Linked DNA regions of Homo sapiens: region 1 is linked to region 2. The links are contacts of gene promoters, found by promoter capture Hi-C in human tissues and cell types (Jung and others, 2019). All regions are on one chromosome and are shown on one strand. Each heading gives the region's core, a stretch centred on a gene start or on the middle of the fragment in contact. The rest is flanking DNA. Distances are from core to core; before and after follow the strand shown. Region 1 overlaps LOC105374294 (a long non-coding RNA gene). Region 2 holds the start of PPP1R2 (protein phosphatase 1 regulatory inhibitor subunit 2).

The links. The method cuts DNA at HindIII sites, captures the fragments that hold promoters and counts their contacts. A contact is called where the count stands out against the background at its distance.
Region 1: a fragment that was not itself captured here is called in contact with the fragment with the promoter of PPP1R2 in region 2 in 2 of the 25 tissues and cell types used here (heart right ventricle and thymus).

What each region holds. Positions count from the first base shown.
Region 1 is chr3:194,978,524-194,984,571 of GRCh38, forward strand. It overlaps LOC105374294 (a long non-coding RNA gene), which reads right to left. Exons shown (of 4, transcript XR_924873.2): 4 at 3,060-4,262. Among named protein-coding and RNA genes, the nearest start is that of XXYLT1-AS1, 110 kb to the right of the region's middle. The HindIII fragment of the contact is 5,353 bases long and covers 1,563-6,048 here.
Region 2 is chr3:195,540,940-195,547,321 of GRCh38, forward strand. It overlaps PPP1R2 (protein phosphatase 1 regulatory inhibitor subunit 2), which reads right to left and starts at 2,386. Exons shown (of 6, transcript NM_006241.8): 1 at 1,965-2,386. The coding sequence starts at 2,086. RefSeq lists a silencer at 2,358-2,597 and an enhancer at 5,104-5,343. The HindIII fragment of the contact is 14,684 bases long and covers 1-6,382 here.

The DNA of each region.
Region 1 (6,048 bases), core at 2,989-5,488, 560 kb before region 2:
AAAAATGTCTTCCAAGGGGATTATAGTGTAGAACAGGTCCTCTCCTTCTCCTCCAGTATGTCTACACTTAAGAGGTCAATAGGGCCAGGTGCGGTGGCTCACGCCTGTAATCCCAGCACTTTGGGAGGCCAAGGCAGGTGGATCACAAGGTCAGAAGTTCAAGACCACCATGGCTAACATAGTGAAACCCTGTCTCTACTAAAAATACAAAAATTAGCCTGGCATGGTGGTGGGCACCTGTAATCCCAGCTACTCAGGAGGCTGAGGCAGGAGAATCACTTGAACCCAGGAGGTGGAGGTTGCAGTGAGCCGAGATCGTACCACTGCACTCCAGCCTGGGTGAGAGTGAGACTTCGTCTGAAAAAAGAAAAAAATATTCAATGTACCTGTGAAGGAGCTCTTGTTTATTGAGCATGTCCCTTTGAAGAAATGACTGAAGAGAGTCATTCCTCCGAGAGGTAGGAGCTGGTGGAATGGGACCTGCTAAGTCCACATTACCCAGGGACTGAGACTCGCTCCTTGAATTCTATATTCAAGTAAACTGGCGTTCAAGATATGCCAGGTGGATCAGCTAGACAGAGGTGAGCTAAATATTTGTTTAGATATATTAAGATAGTTTAAGGCCCAGAGATCCCCTCTGAAAGAACTTGAACTAGTCAACAATTCAGAGGGGAAATAGAAAGTGAACCCAGAAGAAAAGCACGACTGGAAAAAAAAAAAAACAAGTGTATTAATTTGCTAGGGCTGCCATAACCAAGTACCACAGAGTGGGTGGCTTCAACCGCAGACAGTTATTTTCTCCCAGTTCTGGAGGCTGGATGCCCAGGGTCAAGGTGTCAGCAGCTCTGGTTTCTGAGGACTCTCTCTCTGGCTCGCAGACGCCGGTCTTATTGCTCTGTCCTCACACGGCCTTTCCTCTCTTTGCAGACATGTGTCTGTGTCCAAATTTCTTCTTCTTTTAAGGACATCCATCATATTGGATTAAGGCCCATTCTAAACACCTCACTGTAACTTAATTACCTCTTTATTTTAAAGACCCTATCTCCCAATACAGTTACATTCTGAGCTATTGGGGCTTCAACATATGAATTTTGAAGAAACACAATTCAACCCATAACAGTAAGTGTGTACAAAGAAATTAGTAAGATCTAAATAAGTATTGAATCATCATTATCACCATCATCTCATCATCATCATCATCATCAATTTGGGAGATTTAAAAACATGAGGAATTAAAATAATAGAAATAGTAAAAAATGTGAGCAGTGAAAGGTTGTAAGTAAGAAATTTTGAGTGTATAAAATTACTGTTTTTATTCAGGAGAAGGATAAAGTGTTGATTAACTTCAGGCTTTGTTCAAAAAATACACAGTGAAGTATGCATATTATAAGCTTTAGGAAAATAGTGAAAGATCAGAAACACATGCATAATTTTCAAATCAGTAGAGGGCAAAAGAGGGAAGAAAATCTAATCAGTCTCACAGAAAGCCACAGAAAAGGAGTGGGAAAGGCAAAGAAACAATACATGAAGAATGCAAAATAAGATAGACAAAAATCCAAATCATCACAGTAATCACAGAAATCGTAAATGGATTAATTTTTCCTATTAAAAGATAGACACTCGGAGTACACTTCCAATGTCCAGATTATGCAGTTTGTAAGAAATGCACTAAACATAATGACAGAGCTTGAAAATAGACATAAAAAGATATACCAGGGGTATCCGTTATAAAGCTTTGGTTACAGGGTACAGAAGAATCAACCAAATTGGTTAATAATAAAGTAGATTTATTAGTTTAGATAAACAGACGTTGCAGAGGCAGGATCAGCTTCAGAGTAGCTTGATTCAGCAACAATCTCATTAAGGACCGAGCATCTTCCTATCTCTGCTCTCCCTTCCATGGTATCAGCTTTACTTTTAGGCTGGCTTCCCTTTGGGAGAAAATTGACTGTAGGATTTCTAGGTTTCATCTCACCTATCCCATCAAGAAAATTCGAGGCAATTCTAAAGAACAATAAGAGATTAGGGAATATGGCTTAACCAACAGGATATAAACAATTCTTATAAAGCTATACTAATAAAACTGGGTGATATTTATAGAGCAATAAAAAATAGACCAAATTAATAGATCAGAGAGCTTAGAGACTACATATATATAGATATACTTGGTGTTGGGACAATGGCTTTCCATGTAAAAGAATAAAATCAGGTTCCTATCTCATAGCATGCACAAAAATAAATTCCAGTTTGGCTAAAGCCTATATATTAAAAATATAACTTTTAAGCTACTAAAAAAAAATCTTTATGACATCAGGTAATAAAAAGCTTTCAAGATATAAGAGAACAAACCGTTTAAAAATTCATAGATTTGTCTATATCAAAATCAAAATGCTTTATGACAAAAAATGATAGATTAGAAGTTGTTTACAATATGAAATACCAAAAAGGTAGTCTTCAGAATATATAAAGACCTTCTACAACTCAATAAGAAAAAGGCGCTCAACCCAATAGAAAGAGGGTAAGAGATTTAAAGGGGTAATTCACAGAAGAGGAAATCCAAGTGGTCATGAATACATGAAAAGACGCTCAACTCATGGAAGCACTCACAGAAAACAAGTTGAAATCTTCTCATATCATGTCAATCTCCATATTTTAGAAAAAAATTAAAAGTCTGAAAATACTAATCTTTGTGAAAATATGAGGAAAATGGGAACTTTCAGAAACACTGCTAGTGGGGGATAAATTAGCACAGCCATTTGGGGAACAGCTTTGCAGTTATTATTAACATTGAAAAATGCACACATTTTATGACCGAAAAAATTCCCAAGGCATCAACCCTAGAGAAACTCTTCTATGAGGGTAAGAAAACACCTCAGCCTTGTAATAATGAAAACATTTTTAAACAACCTAAATTTTCATCTAAAGTAAAAGTGGTACATATTAATTAGCAGCAGTGAAAAGCAATGAACTATATCTGCGTATCTTGACATGAACAGATCTTCTAAGCCCCGTAATGAGTGAAAAAATCAAAGTGACATATATATAGAGAGAGAGAAAGATTATTTATTACATAAATTTATTACATAAATTTTTTAAATGTGGAAGATAATACTTTACATGATTAGGGACACAAATATATATTATAAGCATTTTTTAAGTGGACAAGAAGGCACATACCAAATTTATGACAATAACTTCCTCTGGAAAGGAAAGGAGGGAAATAGGAATGGGTAGTGATAAAAGTGAGATTCAATTTCATCAGTGAATTTCCTTTTTTAAAGCTCTCTGTGGGATTAATATGATGCTGTGTTTTAGACCATTTTCTGTTGCTTTAATAGAATGACTGATACTGGGTAATTTATAAAGACCAAAAGGTTATTTGGCTCATGGTCTTGGAGGCTGGGAAGTCCAAGGGCATGGCATCAGCACCTGGTGAGGGTTTTCTTGCTCATCATAACATTGGGGAAGGCATTATACAGAGAGAGAGCAAGCAAGCACATATGAAAAAGACTGCAAAAGTGAGCTGAGCTCATTTTATAACAACCCACTCTCGTGAGAAGTAACTTCCTCCCTAGAGAACTAATTCACTCCCATGATAATGGCAGTAATCCATGCAGGAGGGCTCCACTCTTGTGATCCAAGGATCTCTTAAAGGCCCCACGTCTTAATACTGTTACATTGGCAATGAAGTTTGTAACACATGAACTTTTAGGGGGCACATTCAAACCAGAGCAGGCTGGGACTTCAAATCTCACCCTACTGAGTTTCTTCCCCTTCTCTGACCTGCATCTCCCATTGTCTTGCCAGTTTCTCCTGGGAGCGCTTCCCTGATAAACTGTGTGCACAGTGAACCTCATCCCACGGTCTGCTACTAGAGAGCCTGTCCTAAGACGATGAGGCACTCAAGCGTCTCCCCCTCACTCCAATTCTTTGCTCCATCTTTGGTAGGCTGAAAAATGACTCCTGCCCCCACAAAAAATCAGTATTCTAATCCATGTGACCTGTGAATTTTACATTGTATGGCAAAACAAAGGGGTCTTTGCAGATGAGAGTAAATTAAGGATCTTGGGACGGAGGGTTATCTGGATACGCCCTAAAGGCACACACATTTATCCTTATCAGAGTGAGGCAGAGGGAGATTTGACCACACACACAGATGAGAAGGCCATGTGACGATGGATCAGGGAGAAATTCAAAGATGCTGGCCTTGAAGATTGGAGTGATGAGGCCACAAACCAAGGAATGCCAGCAGCCACCAGAAACTGGAAGAAACAAGAAACAAATTATCCCCTAAAGCTTTCAGAGGAGCATGGCTGTCTATGATTTTGAACTTCTGAGCTCCAGAACTGGGAGGGAATAAGTTTATGGTAATTCGTTAAAACAGCCATGGGAAACCAACATGCTCTCCTACTAATAAAAGCTTATAATCCTTACACCATGCTTACCATATCCCAGGCCCTGTGCTGAACTTTCACCCTGGTTGTCTCACGTAAGACTCACAATATCTCTTTGGGTTAGTTAATTCACAGGAGCAAAAACTGAGGTTTGAAGAAGTTAAATGACTTGCCCAGGGTGACACAGAGTCAGGATTCAGACACAGGCAGGCCAACTCCAGAGCTGTCCTTCTCTACAAGTACTGTGGTCCCACCTTTCAAGTTGGGAGGCCCAGCAGGGATGGTTATCAAGCAGGGAAGAAGGGGAGGTATGTCCAGTCTCTGCTGTATGTCAGGATCCCAGAAAAAAAGCATTAGAAGCCTGGGCTCTGGTATCTCTCCACCTGCCAGACCCCACCCACCAGTTCCAAGGAAAGGCAGCCCCAGCAAACGTCTCCACAGGGACTGAGCAAGGCAGATGGCTGGGCTGCTGAGCAGACGGAGGGAGCCCAGGGCTTTCTGTGCTCAAGGCCTGCTCAGAGAAGGTTGGTCTGGACACCCCAACCAGCCAGTTCACCAAGCACTGGCATCTTCCCACAAGAGAAGAAAGGAGGGAAAGATGGAAAAGAAAGAGGGAGGAAAACAAAACAGCCCAAACAGCCCAAATCACTCCTCCCCCAACAGCTGCGTTCAACAAAGGGACATTAAATTAAATTCTTGAGGAAACAGGGCTCAGAGGGTAGGACCATGCCAAGTGAGCCCAGGAACACTTACCACTCTTCGGAACCCAATTAGCCTCCCTTTGGGACACTGGGCTCTTCATTAATCCCTTCTCTGGCTGAAAATGAGGTCCCTGTGCTTTGATCCCCTCTGCCTGCCTGCCAGGGCTCCTGGCTGGGAAATGTCACATCTGCCACTGCTCACACCATTGTCTGAGCTTACAGACCCATGGCTCTCCAGTAGCATAGGCCACGCTGCCAGAAGCCCCTCCAAACACTCACCCAGACTTGAGTGTGGTCCCCAGATACACCCAACATACTCTCTGGGCACCATCAGAGAAAACTCAGACCCAGTACCTGCCATGAAAGAACTTGAGATGGAAGAGGGAGAAAAACTTATACAAAAACCTTTGATATGGCCCATAAAATCTCATCAGAGCCTCTACTTTACTGAGCACTGGCCTAATCCCATTCCCACATGGTCCATAAACACTTTTGTGTCCCTTACCCCACTGGGCCTGTCGCCCTGCTGTCCTGCCCTGATGCAGCTGGAGGCTGGGGGGCTCCAGCCTTCTCCTGAGGATTCCTGTCTAAATGCTCAGCTGCTCTGGAATTCACAGGAGCCCAGGGCATGGGGCCCACCTGGTCTCCTGCTTCCTTCAGGTTGTTGCAGAGCCCCTGTCCTCCCTCGCCTTCTCTACCCCTTTGCTCCCCCTGCCTCGCCTGCAGCTGTCCATGAGCTCTGCTCAGCAAGTCCCAGCTGACCTGGATCTTTCCTTTTTTTCCAGCTAAACAGATATCTGCCTTGCTAATACTGACTGCCTTTCAAAGCATAATTATGATGTGTTGTGTTAAAATCACACTCCAGTAAGGAGCAGGAGACAGGGGAGAGGAATGGATGGGATGAAGAGGGCCAAGAGTCTCTTCCTGTCTCCCGGTGCAGGGATTAAGAGACT
Region 2 (6,382 bases), core at 1,136-3,635:
TTACAGTCACATAACAAGGATCATTAAAAAACCCATCCTTTTTACCACTTGGAACCAAACATCATGAACTTCAATGAATTAGGGTTTGATAGTTCTCTTTAAAGACAGGACTGTAACTCTAACTCGACAGGTCAGTCCCTTTTAAGTGAATCTACCCTGCCACAGATACTACAGAAGAGGCAGCCCTATGCAGTTGAGTCAGTCTAGTATAGTGGCTTTTGAGGCAGAAAGACCTGAATGTAAATCCCAACCAATTACAGAAAGAAAGAGGCCAATCCATAGATTGGGCCCACGGGAAATTACAGCAGATCCAAGTTAAGAATAAACAGAAACTAAAGAAGCAGAGATAAAGAGTAACTCACTTGGTAAATGGACCAAAAGAAACTCACACTGGAGAACAGCTAAATAACATAAATGCCAGTAAGGACCACATTCCTGCTGCTGAAAACCCTGAAGCTACATTTGAGCCTTCTGTAGTTACGTTACTTATCTTTTAATTCCTTTTCTTTTCTTTCCTTTTTTTTTTTTTTTTTTTTTTTAAGAGATGAGGTCTCATTATGTTGCCCAGGCTGGTCTCAAACTCCTGGGATCAAGCAATCCTCCCACCTTGGCCTCTCCAAGTGCTGAGATTACAGGCGTGAGCCACCACGCCTGGATGTTATTTATCTTTTAACTAACTTGGTTCTCCTGCTTCAGTTATGTTCTGGTGAAATTCTGTCTTCTTAATTCCATGACCTACACATCACACTCCCCCAGCACTCCATTTAACGTGGCTTAGCCCAAAGAAGTTGGAAAATTGTGTGTGAGAGAATGTAAGATTCAAGCATCCATGAGCGTGGGAGTTGCTAGACAAAAACTAAGGTCCTTTCCAGCCCCAAAAGGCCACGATTCTAACCTATGAACCTACTCAATATTTCCTTCAAGGTAACACAAATCCCTAAAATTTACCACCACCAAGCAGTAGTTCCTTTTATGGTCCTAAATAAGATCCTTTATCCAGGAATGCCCTAGGTTCCTATATTCTGAGATTTCACAAACATCCTCATTTTAGCTTCTGACTACCAATTTCAATGGTAACTTTTCTTAAGCCTTATTTTCAGAAAGTAGAGTCCTTCTATTTTTAGTATCTTGCAACGCCCAAGCCCCCGTGCACTTCTAACCCACTACAGATACTGTACTGCAACATTTTCTCCGTGCATAAACGCCTACCTTTCTTTTTTTAAAGGCTAGTATATTGTTCCATTATACAAACGTACCGTAATTAATATTTCACCAGCTCTTACTAATGGACTTCCGGTCGTTTCCAATTATATTATAAATATTACATACAATGCTCAGGTCAACAACTTTTTACATGTGTATCTTTAGCGTATGCAAGAGCAACTAAATTACCACTGGGTCATTTCAAGTTGCTCCTCTTTGAACTGTTTTGAGCTTAGATCTATCTCTGAACAGGAACAAAAACTAGAAAGCACCCAAAACTCTGGTTGCAGATGCAGAAATACAGTGTGGCACAATGCTAATGGGGGAAATGGTCTCTTCTTTGACGGATCGCCTATTAGCTTGAGACTAGATCTTAAAGGGTTCCCAAAGCAAGAAAATACACTGTAATTATCGAAGAATTTTAGATACCTCAGAGATGAGGTTAAGAAATAGTAAAAGCTTAACAGTCGAAGATCTGAAGCTTCAATTTCATTCTTTGATGTTCCCGATTACAGAAAGTTCAAAGATGATGTTTAAAAATATTATATATGCCCAAATGCTTAAAAAAAAAAAAGGAAGCATGATAAACGTCATCGCCCAGCCTTCTTAAAGATCGCTCCCACCCGCGGCTAGCCGGGCAGGAGAAGAGACTCGAGCGGCACCCGAGCCGCATCCACGCCGCCCGCCCGCCCCTGGGGTCTGGGTAGGTAACGGGCCCGGCGGGAAGGAGGGGCTCCCAGGCCGTCCCTCCCAGCGCTCACCTCAGCTCCTCGTCGACATTCCCGCGGGGCTGTTCGGCCGACGCCACCATAGAGGAAGTCGTAGAGGTCTTGTTCTTCAAGATCCCCTTGATGGGCCGGTGCGAGGCCGTCGAGGCCGCCATTGCCGGGCGCTCCGGCTGTCGGCTCAGGGTCGCTGCTTGGCGTGGGGTCCGCGAAGAGAAGGGTCGGCACAGCAGAGACTCGCAGGCAGCCGCAGATCCCGCTCAGGGCTAAAGCGGCCGCAACTGCTGCCTCGGAAACGGCTACCGCAGCGGTTGTCACGACACAACGACCCCGACGCCAGAGCCAACGCCGAACGGGTGGCGGCTACTCGCGCACCCTTAGCCACTGGCACTTGACCCGCGGCTCGCGGAGAGACGCCGGCCTAGAGCTCCAGCGCAGGAGCGACGCGACGCCGAAGCCAAGCGGACCCGCCCTCTCGCGATATCTAGGGAGGAGGCGGGGAGAGGGCGGGGCGAGAACAAAGCCGACCTCCTCGCCCCGCCCCCTCCGTCCCGCCCGGGCTGCTCGCCCCGCCCCCGCGCGGCGCTGGGAGGCGGGAGCTGTCTCTGAGAACCTGCGGGAGAGCGCCCGGGCTTGCTGCTTCCCGGACCCGCGCGTCTCTCGAGCACCCTCGTCCCACCACCTTGTGAGGCCGTAGTGTTATTTTTATTTTTTAGATCAGCAGACTGAGACTCGAGGTGACGTCACTCCGCAGAGAGGTTAGCTGACTTGAAGAAAACGGGTATCTCCTCTTTCCATTTCGCCCGTGTAAACAGCCGAACTGCCTATTATAAAAGCATGGACTGCCAGCATTGGAGTGGTCCTTAGAGGCCTATTATGAAATCATAGAATGTCTGCATTGGAATCGCCTCACCTCCTTTTACCGCTGGAGAAGCCGACGGACAGACGGGCAGCGACCCCCGCCGTCGCACAACCCGTCTAGGCAGAGAGCGCAGGAGACGGGAGGGCGGCAGGGACACATCTCCCAGCCAAGGACCTCCTGGGCCCGCAGAGGCCGCGACAGGTTCCCCCCACAGAGGGAACCAACTCTGCCGCAGGTTGATGTGGACTTCAAGCCTGCAGAACGGAGAGCCCATTTCCATTGCTTAAAGCCACCTCGTGTGTGGTATTTGTTATGGTCCCTGTACACTCCCTTCCCTCCCTCTCCCAAGTCCAGTCCGCAGCTCGCTCATCACCAGGCTCTTTTCCATGACTCTTTCTTGATCAGGCCTTTTTATCGTCCTCACCACAGGTTAGAGCACAGCAGACTGAGCCACCCAGAACTGGCCCCTCCGGTGGACCAGCCCCTGCGGATTCACAGACCACTGGTCCTGGAAGGGACCTTGTCAAGCAGGCCCATAAGGTGGCTATTCAGCCTGTTTCTCCAACAACCCCAGGGGCTAGAAGCCCGCCACACCCCCGTGTAACTCATTTTGTTTTTGGACAGCTCTGACTCTGGGAGTTCTTAGATTGAGCTGACACCTCGCTCCCAGCAATGTCTGTCCACTGCTGTGGGGGGTGAGAGGAAGCGTTTTCCCCTATCTAGCCCCTATAGCAGCAGTTTCACTCCCATGGCTCATCTCTGGACCACAGTCTCATCTTCTTTAACACAGGCTCTGTGCCTTTTGAGGATGACCCTGTTCTGTGTCCTTAGGACTCTGCCCCTCAGGGATGACTGTAGGGTTCTGAAAACGATTGTTTTTATCGTCTGGCCCCGAGCCCCTAGCTCCTAGATGAGTTCCTGGCACAGAACAGGGCCTCAGTATGGGAATGGATGTGGATGGAGATAATGGAGGGGAAGTGAGCTGGAAGGGGAGAAGGGAAACAGGGTTGCTGGTCACAGAGTGGAATGTGTTCCCCAGGGATTTGCCTCAGCCAGGGGCCTGCACAGTCACTGTTGGCACTGTCCCCACCTTTGTTCCCAGTCAAATATCCACTGGTGCCGTCTCTCCCTCCCAGGCCAGGACTGCTCAGTGGATCTAACATTACACCCTGACAGCCCTGTCCAGCCCATGGAGCAGAGAGAGAGGGTTCTCAGCGAGGGGAAGCAGGATGGCCACCTCCCTTCCCTTCCTGAGTTCTTTCCACCCCAGTGTTCAACACCTGTGTTGCGTCTCCTGCCCTGTCAGCAGGAGTCTAGGTCAGTGATGGCAATCCTGTTTTCAAGGGAATACACAAACTTCCCTGTATGTTCCAAATTATTGGGCAGATTTGCTTTGTTCCTGCTTGGGCTGGGAAGCATCACTGAGTTCAGCATCCCTGAACTCAACTGTGACTGGGCCCTTGATTAAGCAACAGCTTGCTTTCAGACCCTCTAATGAAAGGGACTACGATCGTATGACATAAAGTGTTTTATTAGTTAATTAACTAACAAACATTGGAACAGGAGGTGATGAAGAGTTCTCTGAAGAACCTTGGAAACATATTTCCCTCATCAAGAGTTAAACTTTTGTCTCCTGTACTGGTTCTTCCACTCCCAAACCCACAACAAATGAATGCAGATGAAGATGACTTTGGTAGCACTTAAAAAAAAATAGTTTGTAAAATTGTGAGGGCCAGTACTGCTTTTTTTTTTTTTTTTTTTGAGACAAAGTCTTGCTCTGTCGCCCAGGCTGGAATGCAATGGCACAATCTCCACTCACTGCAACCTCTGCCTCCTGGGTTCAAGTGATTCTCCTGCCTCAGCCTCCCGAGTAGCTGGGACTACAGGTGCCTGCCACCACACCCAGCTAATTTTTGTATTTTTAGTAGAGATGGGGTTTCATCATGTTGGCCAGGCTTGTCTCAAACTTCTGACCTCAGGTGATCTGCCCGCCTCAGCCTCCCAAAGTGCTGGGATTATAGGCATGAGCCACCACACATGGCCTGCTTTTCCTTATCTTTCAGAATAGTTGAACTACTTTATTCCTCAGTGTGGCCCAAATAAGATTTTCAAATGCCTCTAAACAGAGCTCTCCTTCTGTGCCTCTGCTGAGGTTTGCTCCTGTAGGAAGTTATCTGGACCAAACAGCCCGAGCACTGAATTTAGCTGTATTGCTGTTACATTTCCTGTGTGTTGAGGGTTTGGCTGCCAGGAGGTGAATTGTAGATAGAATCTTTCATTCTGGTTTCAGTTTCTGGAAGTAGCTATTGAGCTCAAGGCAAATCATATATTTAAAGATATATACATGATTTAAGGATAATCTGGCATTTATCTCTGCTCTCTTTTTGAAGACTTCATTATCATGGTTGCCTGACCCAACACAACATATTTGGAGGAGGAGAGGGGACACTTTTATTGTACCCCATCACGTGGCTGAGTCATTTGGCTCTCCATTCACTGGAACAGACGACTATGGACACCACCATTGGGTTTCCCACCAAGGACAGAGTTCCAAAGCAACAGTGGCTTCCATGGTTGGCTCACCCAGCCTGCCTGAGTCATCAGCTAGGTCCACAGAGTAGAGAAGTGGGTAGTGCCCCCGCCTAACATCTGGAAAAATTCCCAAAAGTTGTGACTTCATGACCACTGAGTCAGCAGCAACTCTTTTCTTGCCAAGAATAGCACATTGTTCTTTTCCTTTTCAGGTAATCCCTCCCCGGAAAGAGAAGATCACAGATTTTGTCATATTAAATACATTGTAGAAATTCATGGTAGCAGGGGCAAGATCATTTAAACAAAACAGAAAGTTTCAGAGAGAGAAAAAGCCAAGGACAAAGATTAATCATTTTTCTGCTTAAAAAAAATGGCTTTGATTTGCAACCATGGAATGCTCCACTGTTTCTCTTCTCTTCAAAGACATCTACTGAAAGGATTCCTTAACCTTACCAAGTGGCCAAAATACTTTTCTGAGAAGAGTCACAGAGCATAGGCCCCCCTAGGGTACACAGAGATTTCATTAGTCCCTAGATGTTTCCTGATCCTTTTAAAAACTGGTTAAATTCAGAGACTCTAGGCAATTACTTCTTTCAGAACCTGTGAGGCAAAAACGAAAGAAGAAGGCAGGACACGCAGTGTAACAAACCTTGGAATGGTAAGTAGGAAATATGAGTTAGTTTTTTGGCTAAGCTATGAATTTACCTTGTGCCTGCCAGAAATCACTCAGTCTTTTGTGACTGTAAATTTTCTGTAAGTGTTAATTGGTTTGGTTTATTATTGCAAGAAGCAAGGGAGCAATGTTGTGTATTATAATTTCATTGTGTCAATTTTGCCAAATTATCTTGCATTTTGTTATTCTATGAACTCATAATGGGATAAGGAGTATAGGCTTTGATTCAGAACATATGTGATGTTGCTATAAATGCTTCATGGAAAACCCTAAATATATTTTGAAGCCTACATAGTCAAAAGTCACCATTGGAAGACTTTTTTACTTTACTATTGTATTTATGCTCGTTAGCACTCATTCTTGTTTGAAACGTCTCAAATGCGTAAT